Linked DNA regions of Homo sapiens: region 2 is linked to region 1. The links are contacts of gene promoters, found by promoter capture Hi-C in blood cells and fetal thymus (Javierre and others, 2016). All regions are on one chromosome and are shown on one strand. The core of a region is centred on a gene start or on the middle of the fragment in contact, and the rest is flanking DNA. Distances in the headings are between cores, read along the strand shown. Region 1 holds the start of OR2AE1 (olfactory receptor family 2 subfamily AE member 1). Region 2 overlaps ZKSCAN5 (zinc finger with KRAB and SCAN domains 5).

Region 1 (6,760 bases), core at 2,839-5,338:
AGTTTACCTTCTTAATAAAGTAATATTAATGGAAATTCCTATTGCCCAAGCTCCGATATTGGAATGGAGGGTTGTCTCAAATATACATATAGAGCCAGAGGAAGCATATGTGTGATTCAAAGGTCCAACTAGTAGAGGCTAAAGTTCAGTTACTTAATCTGTCCTGATGTGTGTTGATGGAGCTCACAATATGAACACACATGTGTCCCATTGGTCCTGGTGATATTCTGCCATTAGGGTAATTAGTGCAAACAACAATGCCTGCGTTGGGGCAATTTCTTCTATGCCGTTCCACAGTAAATGTAACGTAAATGGAAATTTCCAGGCTTAGGGAAGGAAGTCTGGTGAGCACCTCAGAAAAGGCTTGTTTTGATCAACAGTAGCCAACAGGTGGGTCAGTGTGGACCTCTCTTGCCCTCTGCATTTCATTTCTATGCTTTGTCTTCCTACGAGTCTCTGCAGGGAAATAACAGGTAAGATAATATTAGGGCTTGAGGTATTTAGGAAACCTTTATTATAAATTAGGGCATTGTCAGCTTATCCCTTAAGTCAATCCATAAGGAAAGCTTCCTTGGAAGGCAGAGAAAAAAAAAAGTCACTTGAAGGCCACAAATCAGAATGGGAAATTATTAGCAAAGTTGCTGAAGGGAGGAAGAGAGACACAGGTCAGATGGTGAAAAACTTACACCATGGAGATTTGTAGAGAAAGATGGACACTAATGTGGAAAGTGATAGAGAAGTATATGGATACTTAAATAAAAGGGAAGTGTGTGGAGATCTCTAATGGGTTGGAGTGATCAGGAGGAGCATGGGAGAAGTTGAGCTTCTAGTCCACCAGAAGCTGAGTGTGAAATAACAGTGTGAAGTGACAGCCAGAAAGATGAGACTGTAGACTGCATTAGGAGAGAGACAGTAATAGATGTGACTTTTTTTTTTTTTTTTGAGACAGAATTTTGCTCTTGTTGCTCAAGGTGGAGTGCAATGGTGTGATCTCGGCTCACTGCATCATCTGCCTCCTGGGTTCTAGCGATTCTCCTGCCTCAGCCTCTGGAGTAGCTGGGATTACAGGCATGCGCCACCACGCCCGGCTAATTTTGTATTTTCAGTAGAGACGGGGTTTCTACATGTTGGTCAGGCTGGTCTCGAACTCCTGACCTCAGGTGATCCACTTGTCGTGGCCTCCCAAAGTGCCAGGATTACAGGCATGAGCGACCGCGCCCGGCCAGATGTGACCTCTTTCTTACTGATCAAATGCTTGGGAGAATGCATTCAGTTCTGAGTTCTTTGCTTTAAGAAGTAAATAGATAATCGTCACCGCATGAAGGTCTAGAAAGACATTTAGGAGAAAAAACACAAAAAAGAATAGGGTGGATATTTGAGGAATCAATTAAGATTACTTTTTTTTTTTGAGACAGAGTCTTGCCCTGTCGCCCAGGCTAGAGTGCAGTGGCACAATCTTGGCTCACTGCAAACTCCACCTCCCGGGTTCAAGGGATTCTAATGCCTCAGCCCCTCGAGTAGCTGCAATTACAGGTATGTGCCACCAAGCCTGGCTAATTTTTGTATTTTTAGTAGAGACAGGGTTTCACTATGTTGGCCAGGCTGGTCTCAAAGTCCTGACCTCAGGTGATCTGCCTGCCTTGGCCTCCCAAAGTGCTGGGATTACAGACCTGAGCCACTGTCCCCTGCCTGAAATTAACAATTATTAATACATCTTATGTTAGATACGGGGGATGACAGAGGAGAAGAAAACAAATATTCAGTACACATACACACACACACAGAATAAATGCCCATAACTATTACAGTTTTTGTTTCTGTAGCTGCTCACATGGTTTTTGGCTGGTATTTATAACGACTTGCTTTCACTACCCATTCCAATTCTCTTTGTCTACAGTTATTCATGACTCTTTGCCTGGTGGGGTAACCCAAACCTTTATTCCTGAAGCATCTGGGCCACTAGCAGTCTTGTCTGAATTGGGTTGTAGTTTTCTATTGGCTTACATCATGAGACATGAGAGTACACCCTAGAAAATCTGACTGCAGACATAATTCTCCATATCCTCACTGTATAGTAGTGACTGAATTTCCCATTGCTAGTCAGAATCAGTCTTACTAGCCAATAGAGTAACCTTATTTGCCTATTGATTCAGTTCTATGAGGAGCCCCAAGTGGCATGGTGGCAGTCTTAACTATCAGAAAATGGGATTATTGTTGTGACACCTGGTAGAAGAATTTCTCCCTTTGGAACTAAGACCTCTAAAACAGCAAAAGCTAAAAGTGAAGGGATAGAAAACTAAAATTGTGCTGGTGGGTCACAGTTATGGGGGCTATAGTGAGAGGACTCATTCTCTCTTCTACCTGGTGATTTCTGGTTCCATGAATCTTGCTATGGGAGGAAGAGCAGCATAAATTGGATGCAGATTTAGAGTATATTTCACATCCTAGAGGACACTGCCCCAGCACCAAAACGTGTTGCCAACCAGATGGTCTTCAAAAGGCCTTCCCTTGGATTCTCCTTTAGTTTTTCTGACTTCTGGGTCAGGTGTGTGCATTCTTTTTTTTTTTTATTTTTTTTTTTTTATTTTTTTTTTTAAGACGGAGTCTCGCTCTGTTGCCCAGGCTGGAGTGCAGTGATGCGATCTCCACTCACTGCAAGCTCCGCTTCCTGGGTTCACACCATTCTCTTGCCTCAGCCTCCCGAGTAGCTGGGACTACAGGCGCCCGCCACCACGCCCGGCAAATTTTTTGTATTTTTAGTAGAGACGGGGTTTCACCGTGTTAGCCAGGATGGTCTCCATCTCCTGACCTCGTGATCCACCTGCCTCGGCCTCCCAAAGTGCTGGGATTACAGGCGTGAGCCGCCGCGCCCGGCCAGGTGTGTGCATTTTTAATCTGGCCATTAAGAAGCGCCCCAGCGGCCGGGTGCGGTGGTTCACGCCTGTAATCCCAGCACTTTGGGAGGCCGAGGCGGGGGGATCACGAGGTCAGGAGATGGAGACCATCCTGTCGAACACGGTGAAATCCCCGTCTCTACTAAAAATACAAAAAATTAGCCGGGTGTGGTGGCAGGCGCCTGTAGTCCCAGCTACTACGGAGGCTGAGGCAAGAGAATGGCATGAACCCGGGAGGCGGAGCTTGCAGTGAGACGAGATCGGGCCACAGCATTCCAGCCTGGGCGACAGAGCAAGACTCCAACTCAAAAAAAAAAAAAAAAAAAAAAAGAGGCGCCCCAGCTTCTGCAGGATATCCACACCGCCAATTTCAGAGACAACAAGAACTGACATGGGTTTCAGTCTGCCTTTGTGGGATTGCAGCTCATGCTTGTGGGTTCCAGCATGACTTTGATCTGCCACTCTTTATATCCATTTTTTTTTTCCTGACTACTTGCCCTCTGGAATTAAAGTTCCAGCATCAGACACAAAGGTAACAGCCACGCATAGATTGCCTAACCAGCTTCCACAATTGTATAAGAGAAATCTCTTAGTGTTATAGCTTTTCTAGTAAAATCCTCACTGATAAAATAAGCAACGCCCCCAAGCTTTTCTCCAAACTGTCTCTCTGTGTGTGTCTGTATAGAGAGAGAGAGCTTAAAAATCTGCCTTCACAAACATGATCACTCTGAAATCTCAGAATATCTAGACTCCATTAAGTATCAAACTTCAAGTCTCTTCTCATTAAGAAAGACAAATGTGTGTGTGTGTGTGTGTGTGTATACATATGTGTGTTTTGGAAGCCTAGGAAGTAAATGGGGAATAAATATATACACACATACATATACATACACACACACACACACACACATATATATCTTTCTTAACGAGAAGAGACTTGAAGTTTGATAATAGAGTCCAGATATTCTGAAATTTCAGAGTGATTATGTTTGTGAAGGCAGATTTCTAAGCTCTCTTTTAAAAAAAGGTTATTTGAATAATTAGAGAGGTTGAATAATTAGAAACGGAAATTTTTTTCACAGGTTCTGTCCTCTATCAAAAGGTGCTTTTCCTTGGGTATACTGGACCCCAGTATTTCCAGTCACACTCTTTATCTCCACTCTCTGTTTCCTCAGGGATTGAGAAAGGGGACAATGTGGCAGAAGAATCAGACCTCTCTGGCAGACTTCATCCTTGAGGGGCTCTTCGATGACTCCCTTACCCACCTTTTCCTTTTCTCCTTGACCATGGTGGTCTTCCTTATTGCGGTGAGTGGCAACACCCTCACCATTCTCCTCATCTGCATTGATCCCCAGCTTCATACACCAATGTATTTCCTGCTCAGCCAGCTCTCCCTCATGGATCTGATGCATGTCTCCACAATCATCCTGAAGATGGCTACCAACTACCTATCTGGCAAGAAATCTATCTCCTTTGTGGGCTGTGCAACCCAGCACTTCCTCTATTTGTGTCTAGGTGGTGCTGAATGTTTTCTCTTAGCTGTCATGTCCTATGACCGCTATGTTGCCATCTGTCATCCACTGCGCTATGCTGTGCTCATGAACAAGAAGGTGGGACTGATGATGGCTGTCATGTCATGGTTGGGGGCATCCGTGAACTCCCTAATTCACATGGCGATCTTGATGCACTTCCCTTTCTGTGGGCCTCGGAAAGTCTACCACTTCTACTGTGAGTTCCCAGCTGTTGTGAAGTTGGTATGTGGCGACATCACTGTGTATGAGACCACAGTGTACATCAGCAGCATTCTCCTCCTCCTCCCCATCTTCCTGATTTCTACATCCTATGTCTTCATCCTTCAAAGTGTCATTCAGATGCGCTCATCTGGGAGCAAGAGAAATGCCTTTGCCACTTGTGGCTCCCACCTCACGGTGGTTTCTCTTTGGTTTGGTGCCTGCATCTTCTCCTACATGAGACCCAGGTCCCAGTGCACTCTATTGCAGAACAAAGTTGGTTCTGTGTTCTACAGCATCATTACGCCCACATTGAATTCTCTGATTTATACTCTCCGGAATAAAGATGTAGCTAAGGCTCTGAGAAGAGTGCTGAGGAGAGATGTTATCACCCAGTGCATTCAACGACTGCAATTGTGGTTGCCCCGAGTGTAGAGTGGAATAGGATAAGCTCCTTAAATTAATTCATATAAACCTCTAAAGTTTTTCAGGGAGATAGCTTCCTTATGCTGTTTTACTACTGGAAGAAAAACACATTTAACACACAATTCCAGTATTCCAGCTTGGTGTCAGGTATCCAAGCACTGTGGAGAACATTTGAGTAGATCTTTAGAGAATTAGGGAAAACTTTTTAAAAAGTCCCTTTGAAAGAAGACATATAAAGGTCACTGACACCCTGAAAAAAAGAAGGCAAGATAAAGATATAAGGGCCCTTATCTATTATTATTTTTATTAACAAAAATATATAAAACATGCCACCAGAGAGTATTTATGGAGTTTAAAATTGGAGTGTGTTGCTTACTTTTGGAAGCATGGGAAGTAAATGGTGAATGATGGCTGTTTGAAAGGGAGGATGCATGATATAAAAGTTGTATTCTTTTTTTTTTTTGTGACGGAGTCTCTCTCTGTCACCTAGGCTGGAGTGCAGTGGCACGATCTTGGCTCACTGCAACCTCCGCCTCCCAGGTTCAAGTGATTCTCCTGCCTCAGCCAGGAGTAGCTGAGTATTACAGAGTAGCTGGGATTACAGGCGCGTGCCACCATGCCTGGCTAATTTTTGTATTTTTAGTAGAGACGGGGTTTCACCATGTTGGTCAGGCTGGTCTTCAACCCCTGACCTCAGGTGATCTGCCCACCTTGGCCTCCCAAAGTTCTGAGATTACAGACGTGAGCTACTGCACCTGGCCCTAAAAGTTATATTCTTAGACCCTTAGTGTTCCATGAATCACAGTGTGTAAGAATTCATAAGGGAAAGAATAATACATTTTGTATACATACATAATAATATATAACATAATTCTTGTAATCCATGTTGTGTTTAACAAATCTTTGTTGAGTGCCTAGTATGATCCAGGTGGTAGACTAGATGTTTGGAATTGCATTGTGAAACTTAAGATTTTTTACACATCTGCTTGTGCTTTTCCTTGGTCTACGTTGGACTTGCCATAGCAGGTAGGCATATTAACTTTTATTATTTCACAGGCTGAAAATACCTTTCTGTTCTTTGAGGGTTCCTAGCCTTGTGATTTGGAATCAGAATGATCTGGAGGAGAGTCTGCCACTTGATAACAGTGGTAAGTTACTTAACCTCTCAAGGCCTCAGTAATCTTATGTGTTTAATGAAAAAAAAAATAGGGTGACCTGAGATTTTGTGTTAGTTATGGGTATTGGTTCCAAGCAACAGAAATGGACTCTGAATGAAACAAGCAGAAAAAAGCCTTATTGAAGGCATGATGGGAAGATGTCAGAATCAGTGGGAGCACTAAAGAACCAGATTTGGAGACTATTACTCACATATCCATTTACTGCCAAATTGTCCACAGAATAAGTCCAAGAAGAGGCCAGTAGTAGAATTCATCCAATGGAGACAAGATTATTTGGGTTTAGCAATATGGGGGAGGACTAACACAGGTCATCATAACCATCTGATCTGCAAGGATCTCTTATAATCTTGCTCTTGAAATTATTCTTCTCTCTTCTGCGTTATAAATTTTCCCAGTCTACTTGATCAGTACCTCAGCCTACAGACATACCTTTATGATTGTCATCTTAAAAAGAAACTTCTCCTCAATCCCGGAAAGTCTAAACCAAGCTCATTCAACCCATGTACTGCAGACCATATGTGGCCTGGGAAGG
Region 2 (6,760 bases), core at 1,544-4,043, 350 kb after region 1:
ACATTTGGGAGGCCAAGGCTGGAGGATCACTTGAGCCCAGGAGTTCGAGACCACTCTGGGCAGCATAGGGAGATACCATCTCTCCAAAAAATGTTTTTTTTTTTTTTTTTTTTTTTTTTAGACACTGTCGCTCTGTCAACTGGGCTAGAGTGCAGTGGCGTGATCTCAGCTCACTGCAACCTCTGCCTCCCGGGTTCAAGCGATTCTCCTGCCTCAGCCTCTGGAGTAGCTGGGACTATAGGCATGCGCCACTATGCCCAGCTAATTTTTGTATTTTAAGTAGAGACCGGGTTTCACCATGTTGGTTGGCCAGGATGGTTTCGATCTCTTGACCTCGTGATCTGCCCGCCTCAGCCTCCCAAAGTGCTGGGTTTATAGGCATGAGCCACCGCGCCCAGCTAAAGTATGTTTTTTAAAAATTAGCCACTCATGGTGGCATGTGCCTGTAGTCCCAGCTATTCAGGAGGCTGAGGTGGCTAGACCACTTGAGCCCGGGAGGTCAAGGCTGCAGTGAGCTGTGATTGCACCACTGCACTCTAGCCTGGGCAGCAGAGCAAGACCCTGTCTATAAAAAAATTAAAAAGCTACCAAGAAGGTCCTCTGACACACACTTGGCATTAAATTGGTGGTTATTTGCCCTGTCATTTTCTTCTCTTCAAGGATTCAGTGACTTTCAGCAAGAGCCACCCAATTCCATAATCTTTATTTTCCTGTTTGTCCCAAACCTCTACAAGTCAATAGATCGCTTTCCACCTGTATCTCATCCCAGTTCCCCACAAGTGAATGACTTAGTGACTGGACAGGTACCACATGCCAGGACTATTAACAGTGATGCGGGTCTTCACTCCCTCCTGGCGAGTGACCAACTCCACAATCCACTCTCACAGCAGCTTCCTATGACCACTTGTGGCACCAAATGTCTTAGATCAGGTTCTCTAAAGCAGAGCCTGAGACAGGGATTCAGAACCATGTGATTGACAGTGTGATTTATTTGGGAAACGCCTTTGAGGGAGGGAATGAAACAGGATAGAGAAGGGAGAGAGCTTAGCACGGATGAAGGCTCAGAAAAAGTCTAGCTTGGCCTGATCCAAGGGTGCCAGAGCAGTCATAGCACCCTGGAGTTTTCTCCGCTTTAATCAAATGAACCAGGTGTTGGGGTGTAGAGAGGAAGTGACTCCTGGGTGAGGTGAGATGGCTCTCATCTCCTGAGGGCAATTCTCCAGTTTCTGGAGAACAAGAGCTGTGAGCACTTGCAGCCCAAACTCAGAGCAGCTGGGGATGGGGGTCTCAGCTTGGTAGAGGGGACTGGACAGGGCACCACAGTGTACAACACATATGGTCAACAAATATTTATTGGGCATTTATTGTAAGCCAGGCAAGTCAGCAGAAACGGCCTGAGCAGTGCCCAAGAGCACTCACTCACTCTCCCTAGCAAACAGGCTCAGAACTCTCTCACACATGTCATCCTCTTTCCCACTCAAAACTCCCACCCCAACCTTCCTGGAAGGCAGGGCTAACAGGACCTCCTGCCTGCCTGCTCACGACTGATTACTTTCAATCCCAGCTGCAATGCAAACTGAAACTCATTCTGTATATCACCACTCTACAGGAGAGGTCTATTTCTGGGGCACCCAGAAGTCAGCACACATACTGCTGGGACCAGGACTCGTAATTCGCCTTGGTCCAACTCCTTCTATGGGTTTAGCTGCCCTCATTCCTGTGGGTAATACAAGATCAAACAGTCCACAACTTTGCCTGTCTTCTCTGCTCCCCTAAGGTCCCTCTCCCTTCGCCGTAAGATGTGACTGACCAGTACAGTTTCTCCTGAATTGACAAACTGAACTACTCCTTCTACCGGCTAAACCCTGACATCAGTAGAATCAAACCAAAAACAAGGTAGAGTGTTTCACAGAGAAGTGGTGGATTGAATAAGGCAGCAGAAACACATACCATCCAGCCCCTGAACCTGAATTTTGCCAAAACAGAGATACTTTAAGTCCATTTCTTTTCAAAGGGGTTAATGCTCAAAGTGGGAATAGTGACTAGGGTATTCTAGTGGTTGGAATAATAATTTCTAGAAAAGGTTCATTGCTGAGGTACCAAAACAGACATCATGCTAAGGAATTCTTTTACTGTGCGCTTCCCTGAATAGATACGCCGTCAAACAAGGCAGAAGCTACAAATAAAGCTTACTTCTACTGAACTCATGAAGCTGTTCCTAGTGTCAGTTTTGAGTTTCAAGTGAAGACTGAATGTCAACTGCAGGCTTTCCGAATTCCTCGACCATGTCCATCCATGGATTCTCTTCTTGTCTAGATTTCCAAGCATGAAGATGCTAACTAAAGCATTTCTCAATGGGGAACACGAAAAGATTTCTATTATTGTGGGTTCTCCGGTGTTCCTAAAGGCTGAGTTATAACTAAAGGATTTCAACCTATTTGTGAGTTTGATGGTAACGCTGGAAAAATGCTTGAAGTTGTTACTTTGCTCATTATAGGAGTATGGTTTCCCTCCAGGAAGGTTTCTCTAAAATTAAGAGCTATTCTACAACAGAGACCCCTCTACACTTAAGGTATTTATGGGATCTGTCCTCTCATGGCTTCTCAGGTGTTTAAAGAGGCTACAACTCCAGCTGAAATTCATTCCACATTCTTTACATTGAAAAGGTTTCTCACCAGTATGGATTCTCTGATGTTGATTAAGATGTGACTTCAGAGTGAAGCCTCTGCCACATTCATGACATTGATGGGATTTTGTGCTGGAGTAGATTTTTTGATGTTGTTTGGTGTGGGAACACTGGCCAACATTTTCTCTACATATATCACATTGATAGGGCTTCTCTGCTGTATGAGTTCTGTAATGCTGAATGAGGTCTGAGCTATAACCAAAGGCTTTTCCACAGATATCACACTGATAAGGCTGCTCTTGTAACTCAATCTTCTTGTCTTCAATCACTGTCAAGTTCCAACTATATGCTTCCTCACAGATGCCATTTTTTTCATTTTTCTGACCCATGTGGAGCACCTGATGTTCAATTAGGCTAACGTACTGAAAAAAGATTTCCCCACATTCACGACACTGATGGGATTTCTCTCGGGAGTGGAGTCGAAGATGTCCAGCCAGGTGGGAACGCCTCCCAAAGCCTTTCCCACATTCGTTACACTTGAAGGGTCTCTCCCCACTGTGCACGCTCTGATGCTGAACAAGGTGGGACCTCACTCTGAAGGCTTTCCCACATAAGGGACAGGTGTAGGGCTTCTCACCTGTGTGGACGCGCTGATGCTGAGTTAGGTGCACGCGTTGGTTGTAGCTTTTCCCACATTCCTCACACCTGAATGGTTTCTCCCCAGTGTGTATTCTTTGATGTTGAATAAGATGTGCACTCTGAATGAAGCTTTTCCCACACTCGTTACATTTATGTGGTCTCTCTCCAGTGGAGGATTTTTTGTGGACATATGGGACTTCACTGTAGTTCATCCTCTTTGAAGATGGTTGTCCTAGTATCTCTTTCATGGGAATTCCCTGCTTTCTATCCAGCTTGCCTTGAAACTCACAGCCTTCTCCAAAATCTTGAACTTGAGAAACATTTCTTTGGGTTTTTCCAGATAGTTCCATGTCTGCTTCTGAATATTCTGAAATTTTCTTCTTAACACTTAATTTTGTGTTCTTACTTCTTTTGTCACTGCCTAAAAAAAATAAAGAGCAAGTGAAAATGTCATCAGTTCTTTTTTTTTTTTGAGATGGGGTCTTGCTCTGTCGCCCAGGCTAGAGTGCAATGATGCGATCTCGGCTCACTGCAACCTCTGCCTCCTGGGTTCAAGTGATTCTCCTGCCTCAGCCTCTCAAGTAGCTGAGACTACAGGCGTGCATGACCACACCCAGCTAATTTTTGTATGTTTAGTAGAGATGGGGTTTTGCCATGTTGGCCAGGCTGGTCTCAAACTCCTGACTTTGGGTGATCCACCCGCCTCAGCCTCCCAAAGTGCTGGGATTACAGGTTTAAGCCACCGTGCCTGGCCCATCAGTTCTTTTATAAAGGAAAAATAAACTGTCATAAAAAATGTTCATCAGATGAAACTATGATGTAACGGGAGTAACAGAGGTGGATGTGTGTGTGTACTTGATGCCAACAGGAATGTAAACAACAAACTTTTGGAATTTTCTGACGAAAAGAGCAAGACTCATCCACAGGATGGCAGAAAATATTTGCAAACTATGCATCAGACAAAGGACTAATATCCAGAATCTACAAGTAACTCTAACAAGTCAACAAGAAAAAAAAAATCCCATCAAAAAGTAGGCAAATGACATGGAGACAGTTCTCAAAATAATATATACAAATGACCAACAAACATGAAAAAAATGCTGAACATCACTAATCATCAGGAAGGTGCAAATTAAAGCCACAATAAGGTACTGCCTTACTCCTGCAAGAATGGCCATTATTAAGAAGTCAAAAGGCCGGGCGTGGTGGCTCACACCTGTAATCCCAGCACTATGGGAGGCCGAGGCGGGCAGATCACCTGAGGTCAGGAGTTCGAAACCAGCCTGGCCAACATGGTGAAACCCACATCTCTACTAAAAATACAAAAATTAGCTGGGCATGGTGGCGGGCGCCTGTAATCCCAGCTACTCAGGAGGCTGAGGCAGGAGAATCGCTTGAACCCAGGAGGCTGAGGTTGCAGTGAGCCGAGACTGCGCCATTGCACTCCAGCCTGGGCAACAGCAAGACTCCATCTCAAAAAAAAAAAAAAAAAAAGGCCGGGTGCAGGTGGCTCACGCCTGTAATCCCAGAACTTTGGGAAGCCGAGGTGGGTGGATCACGAGGTCAGGAATTCAAGACCAGCCTGACCAAGACAGTGAAACCCCATCTCTACTAAAAATACAAAAATTAGCTGGGCATGGTGGTGGGTGCCCTGTAATCACAGCTACTCCAGAGGCTGAGGCAGAGAATTGCTTGAACCCAAGAGGCAGAGGTTGCAGTGAGCCAAGATTGCGCCACTGCACTCCAGCCTGGGCAACACAGCGAGACTCCATCTCAAAAAAAACAAAGAAGTCAAAAAACAATAGATGTTGGCATGGATGTGGTGAAAAGGGAACGCTTATACATTGCTGGTGAGAGATAAATTAATACAACTTCTGTGGATAACAGTATGGAGACTTCTTCAAGAACCAGAAGTAGATCTGCCATTTGATCCAGCAATTCCACAACTGGGTATATCTACACAAAGGAAAAGACAATATACCAAAAAGACTGTAAGCGCCTGTCTTCTGCAGCACAATTCACAACTGCAAAGATATGGAGCCAATCTAAGTGCCCGTTGAGCAATGAGTTGATAAAGAAAATGTAGCAGGCTGGGTGTGGTGACTCGTGCCTATAATCCCAGCACTTTGGGAGGCTGAGGCAGGTGGATCACCTGAGGTCAGGAGTTCAAGACCAGCCTGACCAACATGGTAAAACCTCATCTCTACTAAACATACAAAAATTAGCAAGGGATCGTGGTAGGTGCCTGTAGTCCCAGCTACTCGGGAGGCTGAGGCAGAAGAATCGCCTGAACCCAGGAGGCAGAAGCTGCAGTGAGTTGAGATCACATCACTGCACTCCAGCCTGGGTGACAGAGTGAGACTCCATCTCAAAAAAGAAAAACAAAAAACAAATACATAACTGGGTGGTGAGAACTGACAAAAACTGGAAGAATGAGAGTGAAGGATGATGAAGAGGGTATGCAGTCAGGGAATATCTGACTAGGAGTCAGGAAATAAGGCAAAATGAGCCAACAAGAAGCATTGTCAGAGGGTGGGTGATACAGCAATCCCTGCCCCCTTCACCCTTAGCCAACATTCTAGCCTCAGTTTTCCTCCCCCGGCATGTCATCCTTCTCCTTTGGGAATGCTCATCACCTTTACTATCTGCTACCCCCACCAGACCATCGGCTGCATGAGAGCATGGACTGTATCTCTGTTCTGGTCACTGCAGATCCTGTGCAACTAGCAACACAGACTCTCAATAATATGGCTGGATGTGCAAAACATGTATTCCCCCTTTGATCCAGAAAAATGAGGGAGGACCGGGCATGGTGGCTCACACCTGTAACTCCTAGCACTTGTGGAGGCCAAGGCTGGAGGATCGCTTAAGCCTAGAAGTTCAAGACCAGCCTGGGCAACAGAGCCAGACCCCTTCTCTACAAAAAATACATAAATTAGCTGGGTGTGGTGGTGAACACTTGTAGTCCCAGCTATGCAGGAAGCTGAGGTGGGAGGATTAGTTCAGCCCAGGAAGTGGAGGCTGCAGTGAGCTGAGATCCCGCTACTTTACCCTAGCCTGTGTGACAGAGCAAGACCCTATCTCAAAATACAAAAACGCCCCCGCCCCACAAAAAAAATGTGGAAGGCAAGTGAGTATTCACTGGGAAACTAGCCATAGAAACAATTGCAGGGAAGGTAGAAAACAAAAGATAACTATTTTAAAGCGATTGCTTTTTCAAGTCCAAAGCGCTATTGGTGGATTTTCCAAATGAGGGAATCATCGAGTAGAACGGGAAAACACTAGCTGAGAGGATAGCTCAGCTCAAACCCAGAACTTTAAAGACACTTTACTGACTTCTGTGCCATGGTGGAAGATGCAGCGTGGCTGTAAACATCAAAGGCAGAATTAAAAAAAAAAAAAAAAAAAAGAAAAACATTTTGGCTGGTCTTAGAATCATCTGAAGAATATTAGTAAGGGCCTTTAAGTTCACAGCACAGTTTATGACGATCTCAT

Evidence for each region. The method cuts DNA at HindIII sites, captures the fragments that hold promoters and counts their contacts. A CHiCAGO score of 5 or more calls a contact.
Region 2: a contact is called between a fragment that was not itself captured here and the fragment with the promoter of OR2AE1 in region 1, in 4 of 17 cell types (M2 macrophages, M0 macrophages, erythroblasts and 1 more). The highest score is 7.1, in M2 macrophages.

Annotation. Positions count from the first base shown.
Region 1 is chr7:99,874,361-99,881,120 of GRCh38, reverse strand. It overlaps OR2AE1 (olfactory receptor family 2 subfamily AE member 1), which reads left to right and starts at 4,088. Exons shown (of 1, transcript NM_001005276.1): 1 at 4,088-5,059. The coding sequence starts at 4,088. The coding sequence ends at 5,059. The HindIII fragment of the contact is 12,247 bases long and covers 3,544-6,760 here.
Region 2 is chr7:99,528,034-99,534,793 of GRCh38, reverse strand. It overlaps ZKSCAN5 (zinc finger with KRAB and SCAN domains 5), which reads right to left. Exons shown (of 7, transcript NM_145102.4): 7 at 94-3,686. The coding sequence ends at 2,545. Among named protein-coding and RNA genes, the nearest start is that of FAM200A, 21 kb to the left of the region's middle. The HindIII fragment of the contact is 1,206 bases long and covers 2,191-3,396 here.